Linked DNA regions of Homo sapiens: region 2 is linked to region 1. Evidence: promoter capture Hi-C in human tissues and cell types (Jung and others, 2019). All regions are on one chromosome and are shown on one strand. The core of a region is centred on a gene start or on the middle of the fragment in contact, and the rest is flanking DNA. Distances in the headings are between cores, read along the strand shown. Region 1 holds the start of PTGDR (prostaglandin D2 receptor). Region 2 has its middle 50 kb from the start of PTGDR.

Region 1 (6,979 bases), core at 1,839-4,338:
AAAATTTCCATGCATTTGGCTACTGTCTACTTTGTCACAGCATAGATAAGTGAGGCCCCAACTTTACAATAGGAGCTCCTAAAGATTGTATAAAGGACCAGATAGTAACTATTTTAGGTTTTATGGCCAAGAGACAAAATCATAAATATTTGATAGGTACTAATATAACATGGGAGAAAACACATTTCCACAATTTTTTGATGGAATTCAAAATGTATTAATAATTGAGTACAATTTTTTTTTTAGATGGAGTCTTGCTCTGTCGCCCAGGCTGGAGTGCAGTGACACAGTCTTGGCTCACTGCAACCTCTGCCTCCCAGGTTCAAGCGATTCTCCTGCCTCAGCCTCCTGAGAAGCTGGGACTACAAGTGCATGCCACCACGCCCAGGTAATTTTTGTATTTTTAGAGACGGGGTTTCACCATGTTGGCCAGGATGGTCTCGATCTCTTGACCTCATGATCTGCCCGCCTCGGCCTCCCAAAGTGCTGTGATTACAGGCGTGAGTCACCGCTCCCGGCTGAGTACAATTTTTTTGTAATATGTATCTACTAAGGAGAAGAATAAAACGTTTTCTTGGAACAGTATTTTTCTTGAAATAGTATTTGGCTCAATTGAAGCTCAAAACTCTTGGGTCTCATCAAATTGATTGCAGAGATTCATTTGTAAGAATTATTCTTAACTCCAGGGAGATGTAAAACAGTGGCCAGGAAAGATTTGGCCTGTGAGCTGTGGTTTGCTAACTCCTGTTTTAGAGTGTGATTCTACAAATGTGAACCCTGAATCTGAGCTTGCATATCACCTGGGAACTTGTTAAGAATGAAAATTCTTTAAAAATGTCTGAATTAGAAACTCTGGGGAATGGGGTCCAGCCATCTTTTTTTCTAGAAGCCTTGCTGGTGATTCTGAGCTGGTGATTCTGAAGACCACTGCTATATGTCATCTGCGCCTATATCTACATTTAGATAGATATAGATTTATGTATTTGTTTATTTATTTTGGGGGCATACTGTTCCCACCCCTGCATGCTGATGCCCCAGACTTCTTTTTCCGCAAGCAGTAAGGCCTTCATTTAAAGGAAAATCGCTTTGTATTTCCCTTTCATTCACCATTGAAAGTAATATCCAAAATGGCTACATTCTGAGAAGAAATTTAACAACTTTCCTATTCACAGAAGTCTCAGGATTTCGAGAACGTGGGATTGGCAATGGAATTTCTGTAAGTATTGTTTTTGTTGAACAGGTACCTTGGGAGAAAGGAGAGGAGCAGCACTGAAAATGTTTCCTCAAGCCTCACCTACTCCCAGGTGTCTTGGCGGGGACTCCAGGAACAAATGCCTTCAAAATGAGGAGATAATTTCATTTCCATCGCTATCCTCATTACCAAATTGAAACCGGAGATAATGGCTTTCATGTCACCTCACTTGCCAAGATACACTCAAAACCCGTCAAGTCAGGTTGTCAAAACGACACCAGCAGCTAAAACATACAAAGAGCCTCGGCCTCCATCGCCACAATCCCTGGCGGATGCAGCACCAGAAACAGCAGCCGTGGCGTCTCAAAGTTTACGCACGCGTTTTTCAAAATTAAAACTATGCATCTGCAAATCACTCTGGCTGGCTTAAACCTCTTTTTCCCTTTCTATGCCAACACCGGGGAGAAGATCGTCCCAGACGCCATTCGCCCATTTCTGATACCACTGAAGTCATGAGCAGGTCTAACAAAATAAAACATCACCCAGCCGTCGGGAAGTAGAAGACTCCTGTTGCCAAGGAGAAACTAAGTTCTGCTCCTCCTAAGGCGCAAAAATGACCTCGAGATCTCCCCAGAAGGAAGCAGAGAGGAGGGAGTTCTGCCACATGGAGAGGGTTTTGCTGGGCTAGGGAGACACCGCCGGGCTCAGCCTTTCCCTTCCTTTCTCTAACTTTCCCTCATTTCGCTCCGCAAACTGAGTTATATCTCGGGGCTGTGGAAGGAATCCAATTTGGGGAACTCAGCAGCAAACCTTCCTGGCCCAGGGCGCAGCTCGCCTGGCGCCGCGTCCATCCCGATCCGCTCCACCCTTCCCGCCCCGCATCCGCGGCCGGACAGTCTCAGTGCCCTGCTGCCTCGGGGCCCGGGGACTCACAATTACGGGCAGAGAACACATAGTGAAGAGCACGGTCATCAGCGCCAGCAGCAGGAGGTGATCCAGCTCCTCCAGGGGCTGAGGGGACGCTTCCCTCCCGTCCGCGCGCGGCTCGGCACAGTCCCTGGTGCAGGAGCGCGGGTGCCGCTGCAGCCGCCGGTGCATCGCATAGAGGTTGCGCATGGCGCCGAGGTTGCACAGCACGGTGGCGAGGACCAGCAGCGCCATGAGGCTGGAGTAGAGCACAGAGTACCCCAGCACCGACAGCGAGCCCTCCTCGTGGACCATCTGGATAAAGCACCAGGTGCCGGGGCAGTACTGCACGAACTTCCCGAAGCCCATGAAAGGTAGCGCGCAGAAAGCCAGGGAGAAGGCGCTCACCACCGGGGCCACCAGTGCGCCCAGGCGCAGGGTGATGTGCCGTCGGTAGAAGAAAGGGTGCCCTAGGGAGAGCCAGCACTCCAGTGCCATGGCCAGGAGTTGCAGTGTCGAGGAGAGCCCAAAGAAGGACATGAAGAAGGCGAAGGCTTGGCACAACGAGTTGTCCAATGCGGGCGCAAGCACCCGCAGACTCCGGTTCTGAGCGTAGGCAGCCAGCACCACCGGGCTTAGGAGGCACTTGCCCAGCAAGTCGGTGACCGTCAGGCCACACACCAGCATGTAGAAGACCGAGGGCAGCGGGCGCAGTGGACGCCGCGAGCACCACCCCAGCCCCGAGCGCGCCAGCAGCCCCAGGGCCAGCAGGTTGCCCAGGAGGCCGGTGCTGAAGAGCACCCCGCCCATCACCGCCGAGTTGCCTTTTTCCACAGAGGTGGTGTTCTGGCAGCGGTAGAACGGCGACTTCATGGCGTGCGGGAGCAGAGGGCTGGAGTGAAGGCTGCGGAAGGGCGAGGGCCCCGGCGCCCGGGTGCTAAGGAGCCCCCGGCAGCTCCGCGCGCGGCTCGGGCGGAGAAGCTGCGCCACAGAAAAAGCTCCGAGGGCGGCGGGGTGTTCCCCACGGCAGGAACCTCCTATCTAAACTCGCGGGTCACACCCCTCTTTGAGAGGCGGGACGCTCTGCAGGGTGAGCGCCTGGCGCTGGCATTGAAGAGCGCGGAGCAGGCCAGTGAAGAGCTCGGCCCTGACGCGCTGCGTTCTCAGTAGAGACAGACTCTGGTGCCGAGTCGGAACGGCAGGAGGAAAATAGCCAGAATTCCAAGCACCCAACACCAGTCCTTCTAGCGAGGCAAGAGAAGAACTACTAAAGTGGAGGGGAAATTAAGCAGCAGCCACCTGAGAGGAGGGCAATGGTGCTGGTGTTTGAACTGGGGTGGCCAAGAACTCGAAAGATGAGCGAAGAGGGGAGGCTGAGAAAGGGCTTCTACCTAGTTGTCTTGAATTAGCTAGTCAAGGAAAGGTAAAGATAACTCACGTCTGGAAAGCCCCTGAGCCTTAGCTCCTCTTCTCTACTAGATCAGCGCAATTTGGGGCATTCACGGTCATCTCCATTGCATAGGCGAGGAAACTGAGGCCTTGGAAAGTTAAGTGATCTGCCCGTGGTGACAGAGCTACAGAAGTAGCAGAGCCGGACCTCTCACCCGATCTTCTATTTTGGAGTTCATCTGTCCTGTTCCCATGACTCCTCCTCCCAAGAAGTTGTCCAGATTTCAGGGAAGTGGTTTGTGGGAAAGCCAAGAGCCGGTGTTGGTCCTGGGTGCCATGAATCACATTGACTGTAGAGAGCTGGGGGGAAGGGCATGGTTAGCAGCACTGTTGCTGTCATCAGATAGGCCTGGGTTTGAGTCCAGGTTCTGCTCCTCACTGTGTGTGTGACCTTATGGGACTTGCTTAGCCTCTCAAGCAGTAACATCTATCTGGCCTGCTTGGCTCTTCTGAGGCATAGAAATAACACGTAAAGAGCAAGTACATAGAAAGTGCTCAATTCATGCAATCACCATGATTCTTATTTGATAGAAGGGTGTTTTGGTAGCTGATGTTTAACTGCAGTTTTTAGCATGGATTTTGAAATCAGAAAATGGTAGATTTGGCATAGAGCTTTCTCACTCCTCTGATTTGTGGCTACTAGAAAAAATTTATTCCTGTTTGGGCTTTGACTTGGCTGCATCATAAAGGCAAGGGAGTTAATTGTGATAAGCGTGATTTTATATCTTTAACTAGCATTCGATGCCCTGTGAGAGAAATTGGCTTTGAGTGTGGAATCTCAGTGGGATGACTAAGGTTTTGTTATGTAAGTGAGTAGATGATGCCTGGGCTTGAAACGGCTCATTTTTAGGCCTCATGCCAGTTCTGATGGACAGACTCAGGGAAAGAGCAAGACCCTTGGGATTTAGATGTGAAAGCCTGAAGGGTAGACAGAGAGGCTGCCTCCAGACTGAAAGTCTGGCCAGTAATTCAGGCCACAGGGTGGAAAAGAAGAATCTAAGCTTGGAATTAGATAGTTCTGAACTCCACCACTGGCTGTGTGACCCTGGGTTAGTTGTTCAACCTAATGGAATATGAGACTTATGCTGAACTTGTGGGGTTGTTGTGAGGTTGAGAAAACTTGAAGTGCTTTGGCATAGTGTAATAATAATAATAAGAGCTAATATTTATTGGTCCTGATGCAGGTTGGACACTCTCTAAGCCTTTCACTTATATTGACTCAATAGAAGGCCTTGTATAGAGTTAGTTCCCTTGTCTTCTACCTACTCTCTCTCATTCCCATCTCTAGCCCCTAGCACATAAGAATGGGTTTAGAAGAGCCCCACTCGACTTAATGAAGTGAAAGGAAGAGCAGGCCCCATAACCAAAAGACATGAGAATTTGATGAAAGCTGTGGTCTCCTCCATAGACAGACAGACACACACACACACACAGGCACACACACACAGACACACACGCAGACACACACACACACACTTTACATCAATCTCAGGCTGTTCACCATTTCCTGAAGCCCTTCTATGGTACCCAGAGGAGACCCAATGGACACTAGCTTAAGAATCCTTCCTCTAAAAATATTGCATGGGTTGTTCTTCTGAAGCATACCTACTTCAATTCTTTGCAGCTTTATTTTCATGCTACAGTGGCTTACAACTCCGTATTTATCCTAGGAACCCTAAGATTACAAATACCTTTTAAAGAAAACAACCCCAAAGTGTGACTGTTGGGCCAGCTGTGGGTCCTTGATAAGGTTTACATACATCATGCTTTAAGGTTGAAGGTTTTGAACAAGTGCAATTCAGGAAACCACACGTTTCCTCTCAGCCACTGTAGCTGGCCTTTACGATGGGGTTTCCGGTTGCCTTTCCTGATTGCTTTGCTGGTGTCCACCCTACCCTGTTCTCAGGCCTAACTTTGGAGTCTTCTGTCCCAGTTCCCGAGAAATTCTATTTTGTAATTTCACCATACAACCAAGAAAAGTATCATTTGTTCATGCGTCAAATAGTTTTTGCGCTCCTACTCTGTGCCAAGCATGGGGGTGAGGGGATGAAGCATGTGGGCACTGAGGGGCATACAACAGATAAGGAAAGGCAAACATCATGTCGTGTGACCTCTACAGGCTTATACATTTTTATATCAGCTTTCAGAGTAACCAGGCTAAGTACATTTTTTCCTTAAAAGGGAAACCTTTAATGAAAATATCTTAGGCTAAGTTAGTGGTAAAATTACCTCCATTATCTACAGAGCTGTACCAGGCTGCTTAATTGGGTTATAGGACAAATCTTCTGAAAATATATGACATCATGTGGATGACTATTTTAAATATATAATTATATTATGGCAATATAAACATAAAAATCATAGATTCTCATGGACAAGGCTCAGAAGCTGACATAGGCAAATGAAAACATTCACTTAGACTTGAGAAGGGATGGCAGAAAAATATCTCCTTGGTTTCTGATATTTTCAATGTTGTATATGTAATAATTATTTTAAAAGACTTTAAATGTAAAACAAGTGATATGGTTTGGTTCTGTCCCCACCCAAGTCTCATCTTGAATGTAGCTCCTATAATTCCCATGTGGTCATGGGAGGGAACTGATGAAATGTAATTAATCATGGGGGCAGGTCTTTCCCATGCTGTTCTGTGATAGTGAATAAGTCTCACAACATCTGATGGTTTTATAAAGGAGAGTTCCCCTACACAAGTTCTCTCTTGCCTGCTGCCATGTAAGACGTGACTGCTCCTCATCCACCTTCTGCCATTATTGTGAGGCCTCCCCAGCCATGTGGAACTGTGAGTCAGTTGGACCTCTTTCCTTTATAAATTACCCAGTCTCAGGTATGTCTTTATTAGCAGCATGAGAACAGACTAATACAAGAAATGTATGCTTATGGTGGGGATCTAGGAAGGGGAAAAGAAGGAAAAAGGAACATTTATTTTTTTCTGGATCCATTCTAACTATGCTTCTAAATCTTATCCATTGCTCACTTCTACTGAACTCCAAGTGATATTTTGGGCTGGGGCTTGTGAAGAGCAAGGAATGGAGAGGAGGGATGCTAACAAATGATAAACAAACTTAGCTCTCAAATTTGGAGCATGTTCTGCATGCTAGAGACCATGCTAGATGTTCGTTCACATTCAGGACCTGGAGTGGTAGCATAGAAGTGTGGCCATGATGTGTTAGGTCCTGGGAGTCATACTGTGTGAACTTAAATCTCAGCTTTGCCCCTTGCTAGCTGTGTACCCTTGCATAATCTTCTAACCTTTCTAAACCTCAATCCGCTTGTCTGTAGAAAGGAGGGAAGGAGGGTGAAGGGGGATAATTGGACTGAACTCTTAGGGTAGTATCTGGCTTAAATGAAATAATCTGCATAGAACAATAGTTAGCAATCTTGGCTGCACTTTGGAATCACCTGGAGAGCTTTAAA
Region 2 (6,979 bases), core at 3,320-5,819, 51 kb after region 1:
TCTGACACTGGGGGAGGAATGCCCGTGCAGGGGCTGGCCTCTGCCCCTGCACCTCTCTCTTGAGCTTGGCCATGCACTGTGTCGACCCTGCTCCCTTGCTGACATCTTCAGCTCCACATGGCTTATAGTCAGCTGGTCCACCGATGTTGCTTCCCCTTTGTCCCAGTCATAGACCCTTTTCATCTGCAGGCTTCCCTGTGTCCTTTGTCAGAGCAAAGGATGATTCCAGAGGCTGTCCTGTGCCACCTGGCTGGTGTGGGCCTCTGTGGGGCTGCTGTCCGGTTCACTTGCCTGGACAACACACTCAGCAGTGCTGGGGTATTGCTGAATCAGACTGTACTTGGAGCTTCTGTGGGGCCTTTTCTTCATTTCCTCAAGGCCACAGCTGGCAAGGGAGGCACAAAGTTTCTCTGCTCTGCAGGCCCCCCAAACTCATCAGAAAGCTCCATCAACCCCACAACTTTGGGGTTCAACCTGAAGAGGAGAGTCCGGGTGCTGGACTCTTCTCATAAACTGTGCCTCTCAGCTCACATCCTTTTTGCATCCCCTTTTCCAGCCATTGGTTGAATTCTTATCTTTTTTGTCGGGGGTGGGGGGGGAAACAGCTTTGATATTACCATGCATCTCTCGCTGGAGTGACATAAATGACATTCTCTGGGGCCTCTGGGCTCTCAAAATTAAAACATAAACAAGAGACTTGCGGTTCTTGACAAGTAGGAGGCTAGCAAGGGCCGCTGGCCTCCTCCTCCAGACCTATCCCTGGGGGGCCCAGAAAAAGGCAGAAGTGTATGGAGCTATAAATAAGTAAATAAATAAAGGGCACTTTGGGAGGCTGAGGCAGATGGATCACTTGAGGTCAGGAGTTCGAGACCAGCCTAACTAACAAGGTGAAACCCTGTCTCTACTAAAAATACAAAAATTAGCCGGGTGTGGTAGTGCATGCCTATAGTCCTAGTTACTCAAGAGGCTGAGGCAGGAGAATCTTGAACCCAGGAGACAGAGGTTGCAGTGAGCCAAGATCTCACCACTGCATTCCATGCACTCCAGCCTGGGCCACAGAGCGAGACTCCATCTCAAAAAAAAAAAAAAAAAAAAGAAAAAAAAAAAAAGAAAAGAAACAATGGAAAGGGGAAATTTGAGCAAGACCCTATAGCTGAAAGAGGAATGTAGAGCCTGATATGCTGGGGGGCCAGGACTGACAGCCTGATAAGAAACAGGCAGATACCCATGGAATATAAAAAGCTCAATTTTTGCCAAACTAATAAATAACATTAATACCATAAACCTTGAATTAATAAATATTGATACAATAAAAAACATTTTCTGTGGAATTTAATAATCTGACTCAAACTCACATGACAGATCAAAGGGCCAAAAAGAGCCAGGAGTAATGTTAAAGTTGAAAAAGCAAGGAGACATGCCATATTAGATAACAGAATTGAAAATAAAGTTAAGTAATTCAACAGTGTGGTGTAAGTGCAGGGCTAGACAAATGGAATAATGGGACAGAGTAGAGAGTCCAGGAACAGGCTTATGCACATAAGAAAACATGCTCCAGAAATGGAAGAAGGCCAGGTACGGTGCCTCACGGCTGTAATCTCAACACTTTGGGAGGCCGAAGGGAGAAGATTGCTTAAGCCCAGGAGGTTGAGACCAGCCTGGGCAACATGGAAAAACCCTGTCTCTACAAAAAAATACCACAATTAGCCAGGCATGGCATCATGCCATGGCATATGTCTGTGATACCAGTTACTCAAGAGGCTGAGGTGGAAAGATCGCTTGAGCCTGGAAGGTCAAGGCTGCAGTGAACCATGATAATGCCACTGCACTCCAGCCTGGGTGATAGAGTGAGACCCTGTCTTGGTTAAAAAAAAAAAAAAAAAAAAGAAAAAAGAAATAAATGAGATAGCAATACAGATCAGTGAGGGGAGAGTGGAATATTGATAAATAGAAAAATGATGAACCACAAGGAGAAAAAGTAAAACTAGAGTTCCACATCTTACCATGCACAAAAATTGACCTACATGAATTGGAAATTGATGCCCAAAACAAAATCTTTTTCCTTTTTTTTTTTTTTTTTGAGTTGGAGTCTCCCTCTACCACCTGGCTAGAGTACAGTGGCACGGTCTCCGCTCACTGCAACCTCCACCTCCTGGGTTCAAGCAATTCTTTTGACTCAGCCTCCTGAGTAGCTGGAACTACAAGTGCACGCCACCACACCCGGCTAATTTTTGTATTTTTTAATAGAGATGTGGCTTCACCATGTTGACCAGGCTGGTCTGGAACCCCTGACCTCAGGTGATCTGCCCGCCTTGGACTCCCAAAGTGCTGCGATTACAGGCATGAGCCACCGCACCTGGCCTTCTTCTTTCTTTTTCTTTTTCTTTTCTTTTTTTTGAGAGAGGGTCTTAGGCCGGGCACGGTGGCTCATGCCTGTAATCCCAGCACTTTGGGAGGCCGAGGCGGGCAGATCACCTGAGGTCAGGAGTTCGTGACCAGCCTGGCTAACATGGTGAAACCTCGTCTCTGCTAAAAATACAAAAATTAGCCAGGCGTCGTGGTGGGTGCCTGTAATCCTAGCTACTTGGGAGGCTGAGGCAGGAGTCGCTTGAACCCAGGAGGTGGAGGTTGCAGTGAGCCGAGACTGTGCCACTACACTCCGGCCTGGGAAACAAGAGTGAAACTCAGTCTCAAAAAAAAAAAAAAAAAAAAAAAAAGAAACGGAAAAGAGAGAGCATCTTGAGCTATTGCCCTGGCTGAAATGAAGTGATACAATCATAGCTCACTGTAGCCTTGAACTCCTGGCTCCAGGGATCCTCCTGCCTCTGCCTTCTGCCTTCCAAGTAGCTGGGACTACAGGTAGGTACCACCACATCTGGCTAGTTTTTTATTTTTATTTTTGTAGAGACAGGGGTCTCACTATATTGGCCAGGCTTGGTCTTGAACTTCCCAAAGTGCAGGGATTGGAGGCATAAGCCACTGTGCCCTGCCCTTCAACTGATACAAGGGACATTTAAAAGAATTTATGTTAGAGCATGAAAATATGTTTTTTAAAAAAACAAAATAAGCCCGAACCATAAACAAAATATTGGTAAATTTGACTACATTAAAAAAAGTTCTGTATTATAAAAGATAGGATGGGGGACATGATAAACCACAGACTGGAAGAAGGTGTTTACAATGTAGGTGATGGACAAAGGATTAGTATTTAATATGTGCAGCATTCCTAAAAAGAAACAGAACCAAGTTGCAAAGGATATGGATAGGCAATTCATGGAGGAATAAGAGCTTAAACTCAAGAATAATTGCTATGGTTTGAATGTGTCCCCTCCAAAATTCAGGCATTGAAACTTACAATGTGATGGTATTAAGAAGTGGGGCCTTTAAGAGGTGATAAGGTGATTAGTGTGCCTCTCCTTATGAATGGAATTAGGGACCCTTACACAAGGCCTTGATGGACTTGCCCTTCTGTCTTCCACCATGTGAGGACACAGTGTTCCTCCGCTCCGGAGGATGTAGCAACAAGGTGCCACGCTGGGAGCAGAGAATGTTCCTCAGCAGGCAGTCACACCTGCTGGCACCTTGGTCTTGCACTTTCCAGCCTCTAGAACTACAAGAAAATAAATTTTGGTTCTTTATAAATTACTCACTCTTAAATATTAGCAGCACAAACAAAGGCAGAAATAAAAAAATGCAAAAAAAAAAAACCCACAGTGAGGTAAAACTATCATATTGGTAAAAGTTTAAGTCTGAAAACCCCAGTGATAGGTCCTTATGAATCAACACTGTTGGGGCAGGAGTGGGTGTGGGGGGTTGCAAATTAGAATAATCACTTAGAACAATTTGGAAAAATTTCGTCAAGTTGAGAATGTGGATTTCCTCTGATGCTGCAATTTCACTTCAAGGTGTACACTCCCAGAAATTCTTGTACAGGTGCACAGGGAGCCATATACAGGATGCTCACTGCAGCATTCAACATTTGTAATGCTGAATACCTGGAAATCACATTGATGTCCATAAGGACGCATAAATTAATTGTGATGTCTTCATACTAATTTATTGATCATGTGATCTTGAGCTTAAACCCCAAATTTTTCTTCACTTGATGATGAGGATCACAGTAGTACCTATCTGATAAAAAGATTTTTTGAGGATAACATGATTAAATACTAGAACAGTGTACAATACTTTAAAATGCCTAGAACAGTGTCAAGCACAAAATAAAATCCATTAACAGTGGTAACGACAGCAACAGGAGCAATAGTAGAAGTAGTATACGACAGTACGATGAATATATCAACATGGCTGAATTGTACAAAATGTGAAAGAGAAGAAGAAAGTTGCAGGAGAATATATACAGTATAATACTATTTGTGTGAAGTTTAAAACCATCAATGCAGTACCATATAATGTCTATGGAAACATACGTATATTACAGAATTGTAGAAATATGCATGGGAATGATGAACACCAATTTCTGGATAATATAAATCCATCTAAAATGGATTTTGACGATGGAGACGGGGAAATAGGATCTAAGAGGGTAACGGAGGCTTCAGTAGTATCTATCATATTTTATTTTTAAGCTTGATTTTGTATGATATTTGCCATCTATATTATTGTATGCCTGAAAACAATAAATTTTAAAGATATTACTTTGGCTGGGAACATACTTTGTGTTTTTCATCTACCCCTTATCTATGCCCTCATTACACATTGGCTGCTCCAAAAATGATTAAATCTAGGAGGCCTTCATTTAAAATGTCCAAAGCAAACAAACAATCTCATTTCAAAAACTCATAGAAAAATACTTCCATTTTGGTTTTTTCTGGCACAGAAATAAGTTTCTTGAGAAAGTGGGGCTGTGCTGTGTGTTTTGTTTATTGTCTAGCATAGGACGGGAATTAAAAATACATTCACAAATTAGTTGGTGATTCACTTCTTTGGAATTTAAAAATAAATTTCCCACAAAATTATAATAATTACTATCTTTTGAGACAGGATCTTACTCTGTTGCCCAGGCTGGAGAGCAGTGGCACTGACATGGCTCACTGCAGCTTCAAATTCCTGGGCTCAAGAGATTCTCCCACCTCAGCCTCCCAAGTAACTGTGATCACAGGCATATGCCACCACACTTGGCTAATTTTAAATTTTTTTGTAGAGAAGGAGTCTCTCTGTGTTACCCAGACTGGTCTTGAACTCCTGGGCTCAAGTGATTCTCCTACCTTGTCCTCCCAAAGTGCTAGGACTATAGATGTGAGCCACCATGTCCAGTCCATGAATAATTTAAAGAGAGTGACTAATTTCTCACCCTAACTCATAAAATCCTATTTAATCCATGTTGTTCTTTAAATTGCAGGCAATTGTAACAAATGCAGAAAAACTTTTTTTTTTTTTGGCTTGGTACTATTGTGGTAACATCAGTCTCAACACAGGCATACTTTCATTGAAAAAGGAAAATTCTAAATTAGCTGGTGTTTTAAATTTCCCTGTCTTTCATAGTATTTAATAACCTCTGTTTACAAATACACAATTCATCTTAATTCCAAATATACCATAATTACATTTTTCTAAAATGGATTTTTTTCAGTGTTGGAAATTCTTAATTGAAAGCCCGCACCCCTAACTGATTTGTGGGAGCTCTAAAGAGAAGTATCAGGAAAGCTCTACCCCAGCTCAGTCCTACTTTCTTGGTTACTACCTGGTTCCCACTCACTTTCAGGGCCAGAAGCTGTCTGGTGAGAGAAAGGTGGACACCCCTACCTGGGTAAATAAAAGTTAGGGGTGGAGTGGGGACTGGGCAGAAGTGACAGAGATGGCACAAGTAAGGAGAAAAACAGGATTTCATCAAGAAGATCCAGGTGGAAGCCAGGAAATGACAGGCTCTCAGGAAAAAGTAGCATGGAACAAAGTCAAGAGTGAACAGGAAAGAAATGAAGATCCAAAAGCAGGAAGAATTTAAGTTGTTCAAAACCAAGGCTATTGATTTGGGCTGGAGTTTCTGCTTAGGTGGGACCTGTGTGGCTGAGCTGGGGGCAAGAGCTTAAAGGAGTTACAGACAGGACACCTGGGAGGAATTTCCTTTGAACAAACCAAATCCCTTGTCTATCTGAAAACTGAAATCCATTTCTTCTCCCTCTTTTCTTCCTTTTCCATATTCTCCCTCCTTCTTTCTTTCCTCCTTCTTCTTTCATTTGGAAAAAAATTTATGTATGTTCCACCATCCAGAATGAAAAAATGTTATTCCATTACATTTGCTTCAAATACTTTTAATAAAAAATAAAGTATTAAAAACAGATTTGTACCCCTTCTCAGTCCCGTACATCTCCTTCCCTCCCAAGCACATCCACTATCATGAATTTCGTGTGTGTTCTTCTAGTTCGTGCTTTTTCTTTCCTTTGGTAATTTGACTATACATCTATCTGCCTATTGTTAAAGAAAAAAATATTAAATGATACTTGTTAAAGCATGGTAAGGAAGACTTTATTCAGGACCATCATGACATGCATTGGGACCACAGCAATGGGATTTTGCAGTGGGGAAGAGAGATTGGGCTCAACTTTGAATTCAGCATGGGCAAGTGGGAATTTATAGCCAAGGGGCAGAGTGGGGATCAGTGGATGGAAAACTACTAAGAGAAAACGTCAGGGGTAAGGGGGTTTCCTGTCTAAAGTGACCTAATAGGATTCTTGCTGAAGATGGGCCAGAGTGATCAGACGCCACCTGGGAGATAGTGGAGGATGAACTCGGTCAGATATTGAGCATGGTTAGATATCAAGGGTGGGCATTCTTGCTAAACTGACTTAGCAAGGTTCTTTGCTAAAACTGAATTTTGTAAAGAGGTGCACAGATGGGCTTATGAAAAGGTTCAGGAGACTGAATAAAGGTTGGCCAAAGAATCTTTTTTACCATAAACACTATAATATACTGTTTTGTGTGTCTCAAAGATAGATGTAAATATATTATACCTTGCATATTG

The links. The method cuts DNA at HindIII sites, captures the fragments that hold promoters and counts their contacts. A contact is called where the count stands out against the background at its distance.
Region 2: a fragment that was not itself captured here is called in contact with the fragment with the promoter of PTGDR in region 1 in 1 of the 25 tissues and cell types used here (IMR-90 fibroblasts).

The regions. Positions count from the first base shown.
Region 1 is chr14:52,263,807-52,270,785 of GRCh38, reverse strand. PTGDR (prostaglandin D2 receptor) reads right to left here and starts at 3,088. Exons shown (of 2, transcript NM_000953.3): 1 at 2,126-3,088. The coding sequence starts at 2,971. The HindIII fragment of the contact is 10,952 bases long and covers 1-6,187 here.
Region 2 is chr14:52,214,414-52,221,392 of GRCh38, reverse strand. No RefSeq gene overlaps it. Among named protein-coding and RNA genes, the nearest start is that of PTGDR, 50 kb to the left of the region's middle. The HindIII fragment of the contact is 4,919 bases long and covers 2,110-6,979 here.